Regions from separate parts of the Homo sapiens genome. Here region 2 is linked to region 1. The links are contacts of gene promoters, found by promoter capture Hi-C in human tissues and cell types (Jung and others, 2019). All regions are on one chromosome and are shown on one strand. Each heading gives the region's core, a stretch centred on a gene start or on the middle of the fragment in contact. The rest is flanking DNA. Distances are from core to core; before and after follow the strand shown. Region 1 overlaps PLEKHB2 (pleckstrin homology domain containing B2). Region 2 holds the start of SMPD4 (sphingomyelin phosphodiesterase 4).

Region 1 (2,642 bases), core at 40-2,539:
CTTGACAGGATGTTCGGAAAATTGGGTGAAATAATATGTAAGTAGTTGGCATGGTGCCTCACAGTTACTAGAACTCGATAAATGGTAGCTGCTTTGACAGCAATTATTACTATTTACTACTATTATTACTATTACTTATTTTCCCCCTTACCAAAATTTGCCGAAAATATTCTAGAACAAGCTTGTCCAACTCATGGCCCCAGCCCAGGTCAGCTTTGAATGCAGCCCAACACAAATTTGTAAACTTTCTTAAAACGTTATGAGATTTTTTTGCAATTTTATTTTTTAGTGCATCAGCTATCATTAGGGTTAGTGTATTTTATGTATGGCCTTCTTCCAATGTGGCCCAAGAAAGTCTAAAGATTGGACAGCCCTGTTCTAAGAACAAGGACATCAAGCTGCTTCTCAAATGGCTCAGAAGACTTCTGTTTGATTGCCTTAGCATGCTGAATTTCACACCACTCCATAACTTAATTCAACATTTCACTATTTATATCCTGGAGCAAAACTGAATGCATAAACTAAAACTCATCAGATAAACACTAAGCCCTAGCTGTTGGTCTCTAGAGAATAAAACACCAGCAAACTAGCTGCAAAAGAACATTATTTTTATGCCAATAAAACCTATGCAAAGCTTTAAAATGTAAGCCATATTCAACAATTTAAATTATTTTAAATTTGAATTTGTATCTCTTTGAAAGCATTGAATCGAAACAGACAACAGATGGACAAAAAATACTGCCTTTGGAATCTGACAGTTCTAAGCCTGAAGCCTACTTTGCCTTCTACTCACTAGTATGACCTTCAGCAAAATTCTAAACCTCTCTAAGCCTCAGTTTTCTTACCTGTATGACCAGGCACAACCAATTACGTCATGGGGTTACTGTGACAATTAAAGGAGGTATGTCCAAACAGCCCTGTAGTAGATGGTCCAAAAGTGAGAATTGGCCAGGCGCGTTGGCTCACGCCTATAATCCCAACACTTTGGGAGGCCAAGGCAGGCGGATCACCTGAGGTCAGGAGTTCGAGACCAGCCTGACCAACATAGTGAAACCCCATCTCTATTAAAAATACAAAAAATTAGCCGAGCATGGTGGCGCACGCCTGTAATCCCAGCTATTTGGGGGGCAGAGGCAGGGGACTCCCTTGAACCCGGGAAGCGGAGGTTGCAGTGAGCCGAGACTGCGCCATCGCACTCCAGCCTAAGCAACAGGAGTGAAACTCCGTCTCAAAAAAATAAAAAATAAAAAAGTGAGAACTGCTACAATTACATTACTATTTTGTTCCAAAAGCTAGAATTCAGGTTTAACTGTCTACAACTCCTCATGATATCCCAGTTCTCCAGCTCTCTTTCGCTATAAAAGTGGCTTCCTTATGAAAAAGGAAGAAAACTCATCTCTGTTCTTCAAGGGCAACAGTGGAGAGTCAAAGAGATGTCACAGGTACATTCTGAAACAGAAGGGAAAGAAGGTTGGGTGACCCATCAACATGTAGAGGTCAGTTCCCACGTGGCATTGGCCATTTCCAGTTGGGAACCACTTCTTAACAACAAGCCTAATACAAGCACCATCAAAGGGCAGACAGGCAAAGAAAGCAAAGAGGCAAGGAAGTCCAACTTTCCGTTTCCATGATCCACTGTGGAAGCAAATATATAACTAACAAAACAACTGGGTCAATTAGCCCCCACTTTGGGAGCATTTTTAACAGTGTGTTTTGCAGTTTTTGGTAGTTACTGTTATTAATAAGGTAATTCTTTAATTTCTTTAGACAAACAGTAAGAAGGCAGGCAGAGGAAAGGAGAAACAAAAATATTAATGCAAGCTGAAAAGCATAAGCAAAGCTTTCAGAAAGAGCTGAGAGAAACCTCCACCTTCCCAAGGAGTAACACCACAAGAGTATCTGTCCTCTCTATACCACTGCTGTACACATTTAATCAACTCAGTCCTTGAGAATAGCAGGAAATTTACTTACAGAATGTACCACCGCCTTTAAAATATAATGCTAGCAAAGAACCGCTGTCAGGTTCTGAGTTCTTTTCTGCAGCCTTCTTCAATAAGCATTTACTGACCACCTACAAAGTGCCAAACACTATGCTGTTTATTAGGGAAACCCTGCAACACAGTTTGATTCCTGTCCTCAGGGAGATCAGTACGAATAGGGAAGAGTCGAGTAAAGAGATCACCACCACAGAGAGTAAACACCAGGCACAAAGGAAGCCCAGACAAGCTCCAGTCCTATCAATATCCAGCCAACCAGCCCAGGGTTAGGAACTTTCTGAACCTAGGGAACACTCCTGAGCACCACAATTGAACCGTCACAGCAGTATTCCCACACCCCCACAGGTCCTTAGGCAGACACACCCACTGCATGGGCACAGACGCACAGCTGTGTCTGTGCATACATGTTTTGGTCATTAGTTTAGTCAACAAATACTGAGGGCCACACTAAACAGGCAGTTACCAGTGCCAGCTCGGGTCCTAATTCCTCATGTGACTTCGGACAAGTCACTTCCTGAATTGGTACTGGTTCATACCAAAGGCCACAGAAGACCTTGGAATATTCCTCCCCTCAGCTGTCAGCCCTCCTCCCTCGGTGGTGGTTCCACCCTTTCCTAAGCACTAAAAATTTAAAGGCTGAGACCA
Region 2 (2,642 bases), core at 56-2,555, 930 kb after region 1:
CCTGCAGGTGCTGGGCCTAGACCGACAGACAGGCCTGGCCACTCAGGGCCACGCCGCCGCTGTGCCGCGCCTGCCCCCTCCCCGCCCGCCACCCCCGCCACTGGGGCAGGGACAGCGGGCCCAGCTCTGACCTCGGGTCTCGGGCACGCTCGACGTGGGCAGAGACACGGCCGCAGGGTCCTGGGGCTCGCTCGCTAGCCTCTGCCCGGCACACATGGACTTGAGCATCTGGAAGACGGCGAGGGGGGCCACGTTCAGCTTCAGCAGGTCCACCAGGATCCTGGCGGGGACAGACGCGGGGCCGGTGAGCCCTCTCCGCCCGGCGCGGCCACCTCCCTGAAGACCCGACAAGGACGGGGGCGGGGGCTCCTCCCGACCAGCGGGCCGGGCGTACCCGGAAAGCAGAGGTCGGGGGGTGTCTGGCTAGCATGCGGCCCCCACCCGCCCCGCTCACTTGAACACGTCGGGGTCGATAGCGCCGCCCGCCGCCTGCGCCAGCTCGTACAGCTCCATCTCCTCGGTGCTCAGCACCTTCTTCCGCCGCAGCGCCAGCTTCTGCCGGGCCGCCTCCAGCCCCGGGGGCGCCGCCGACCCCGGCCCAGGCCCTACGCCCTGCGCCGCCATCCCCGCGGCCCGCGGAAAGGTGCGCTCCGCCCCGCCGCGCCCCCTAGCGGCTGCGCCCACCACCCTCTCCCTGCAGCGTCAACGTCTGGCCTCCCGGGCTGCCCTGGCGGGAGGGGCGGGAGCGCGGGGACGGGGCCGCCTCCGCGGCGTCATTGAAGCCCAACAGTTATTGGGCGCTCACGGTGTGCTGAGCGGCGCTCTAGGAGCCGGGAGTGGCATGGCGGACCGCAGGGGTCCGCTGCTTGGCGATCTGGGCCTCCCTGATAGACTGCATTGGTCGTGCTCGCTTAGGTGGCAGCACCCAGCCCAGTGCCAGGCATACATTGGGCGCTCGGTAAATGCCTCTTTCAAGAAAGCGTGCAATTTTCTGGTCCGCACCGGTGCACCACTAGGGGTCGCTTTTCGGGGCGGGCGGGGGGAAGGGGGGGGCACTAATCAACAATACTGCTTACGCGCACGCGGATTCCTTGCTGGGGAGAAAGTACCTTGGGGCGCCGGAGGCCGCCACAACGCAGGCGCATTCAGCTAAGGACCACTCCCTCCCCCGCACTCCTGCCTCGCCATTTCTCTTCCCCGCCCGGCCGGCCTTCGCTTTGCGCACGCGCCTTTTGAGGTAACGGCCCAAAGAGGTGGAAGCGCTTTTCCCGCCCGGCCGCGGGGCGTGGCTCTGCGCGCAGCTTGATGACGACTTTCGGCGCCGTGGCGGAATGGCGGCTTCCATCTCTGAGGCGAGCGACGCTATGGATCCCACAGGTGAGTGGCGCGGGATGCGCGCCTGAGACGGTCCGGCGCCCTGGGGGCTTCCCCGAGCCCCTGCGGAGGCCATCTCCGTTCCTCCGCGAGCCCCAGGACTCGGGCCGGCCAGCCGGCTCTGCCCAGGCAGGGCAGGCTGGGGAGTGGAGGGCCCCGGTTGAGTCTTCTGCCACCCCTCTGGGCCATGCCTTTGTGCCACCTTCCCGCGCGGCTCGTACACTCTGTCCCGGTCCGGTAGGTGTTCGCTGAAGGTTAACCTTCGTTGAAGGAATTGAGGGAAGGAGAGCTTTGTGTTGAAGTTGAGCCTTGGGCTCAACAGGCGGTGTGGGTGTAAGAGCCGGGTGTGGGTCCCAGCTCGACCCTTCCCCTGTGTGCTCCACATCTCCGAGCCTTGGTTTTGGAGGCTCCCGAAGCCCAATTGGCAGGAGAGTTGGGAACAAGTGGGCGCGTGCTGTTAAGGGAGGTCTTGGCATGACAGAATTTGCTTGGAATGATTAGCGTTGCCCAAGGGCTGTCGCTGTCAGAAAAACAAAACAAAACAAAAAACAAACGGGGTCCGAAGCAGCTCCTGGAGAAAATAGGTGTTGGAGAGTCGCCATGAAGTGGACTCTAGGTGCATGGCACGCAGAGACCTGTGACGGGGGAGGGTGGCCATGGCAGAGTCAGATAACAGGGGTGTGGGAGACACCTCTTGGGAATTCTCGGGTTTGAATTTCCTTTCTTGGAAATTTCCTAGAAATTCCTCTGGGCCTCATTCTTTCAGTCGCTGCCCATGAAAGCTTCTTCTGAGCAGAGATGCTCTCCCCTTCATCGTCTCTAGAGCTCCGCACTTACCGAACAGTCCACAGTTTAATGCTGCTTTGATCATTTTGTAGTAGTGCAGCGTTTTCTTGACCAAGTGCCTTAGGACTGAGGCGTTTTTCTTTAACACTGCAGTTGATAGCTAGGTTAAGAATTGAGGCCGGGAGCGGTGACTCACGCCTGTAATCCCAGCACTTTGGGAGGCCCAGGCGGGTGGATCACGAGGTCAGGAGTTCAAGACCAGCCTGGCCAAGATGGTGAAACCTCGTCTCTAGTAAAAAATACAAAAATTAGCCGGGCGTGGTAGCGGGCGCCTGTAATCCCAGCCACTTGGGAGGCTGAGTAAGAGAATTGCTTGCACCCGCGAGGCGGAGGTTGCAGTGAGCTGAGATCGCGCCACTGCACTCCAGCCTGTGCGACAGAGCCCAGAGCGAGACTCCGTCTGAAAAAAGAAAAAGAGAAAG

Evidence for each region. Contacts are between HindIII fragments. The study calls those that stand out against the background at their distance.
Region 2: a contact is called between the fragment with the promoter of SMPD4 here and a fragment that was not itself captured in region 1, in 1 of the 25 tissues and cell types used here (dorsolateral prefrontal cortex).

The regions. Positions count from the first base shown.
Region 1 is chr2:131,106,268-131,108,909 of GRCh38, reverse strand. The region is part of intron 1 of PLEKHB2 (pleckstrin homology domain containing B2); the gene reads right to left. Among named protein-coding and RNA genes, the nearest start is that of PLEKHB2, 2.3 kb to the right of the region's middle. The HindIII fragment of the contact is 3,190 bases long and covers 1-2,642 here.
Region 2 is chr2:130,180,265-130,182,906 of GRCh38, reverse strand. SMPD4 (sphingomyelin phosphodiesterase 4) reads left to right here and starts at 1,305. Exons shown (of 20, transcript NM_017951.5): 1 at 1,305-1,377. MZT2B (mitotic spindle organizing protein 2B) reads right to left here and starts at 645. Exons shown (of 3, transcript NM_025029.5): 1 at 455-645; 2 at 132-280. The coding sequence starts at 624. RefSeq lists silencers at 390-899, 1,410-1,549 and an enhancer at 1,597-2,393. The HindIII fragment of the contact is 11,545 bases long and covers 1-2,642 here.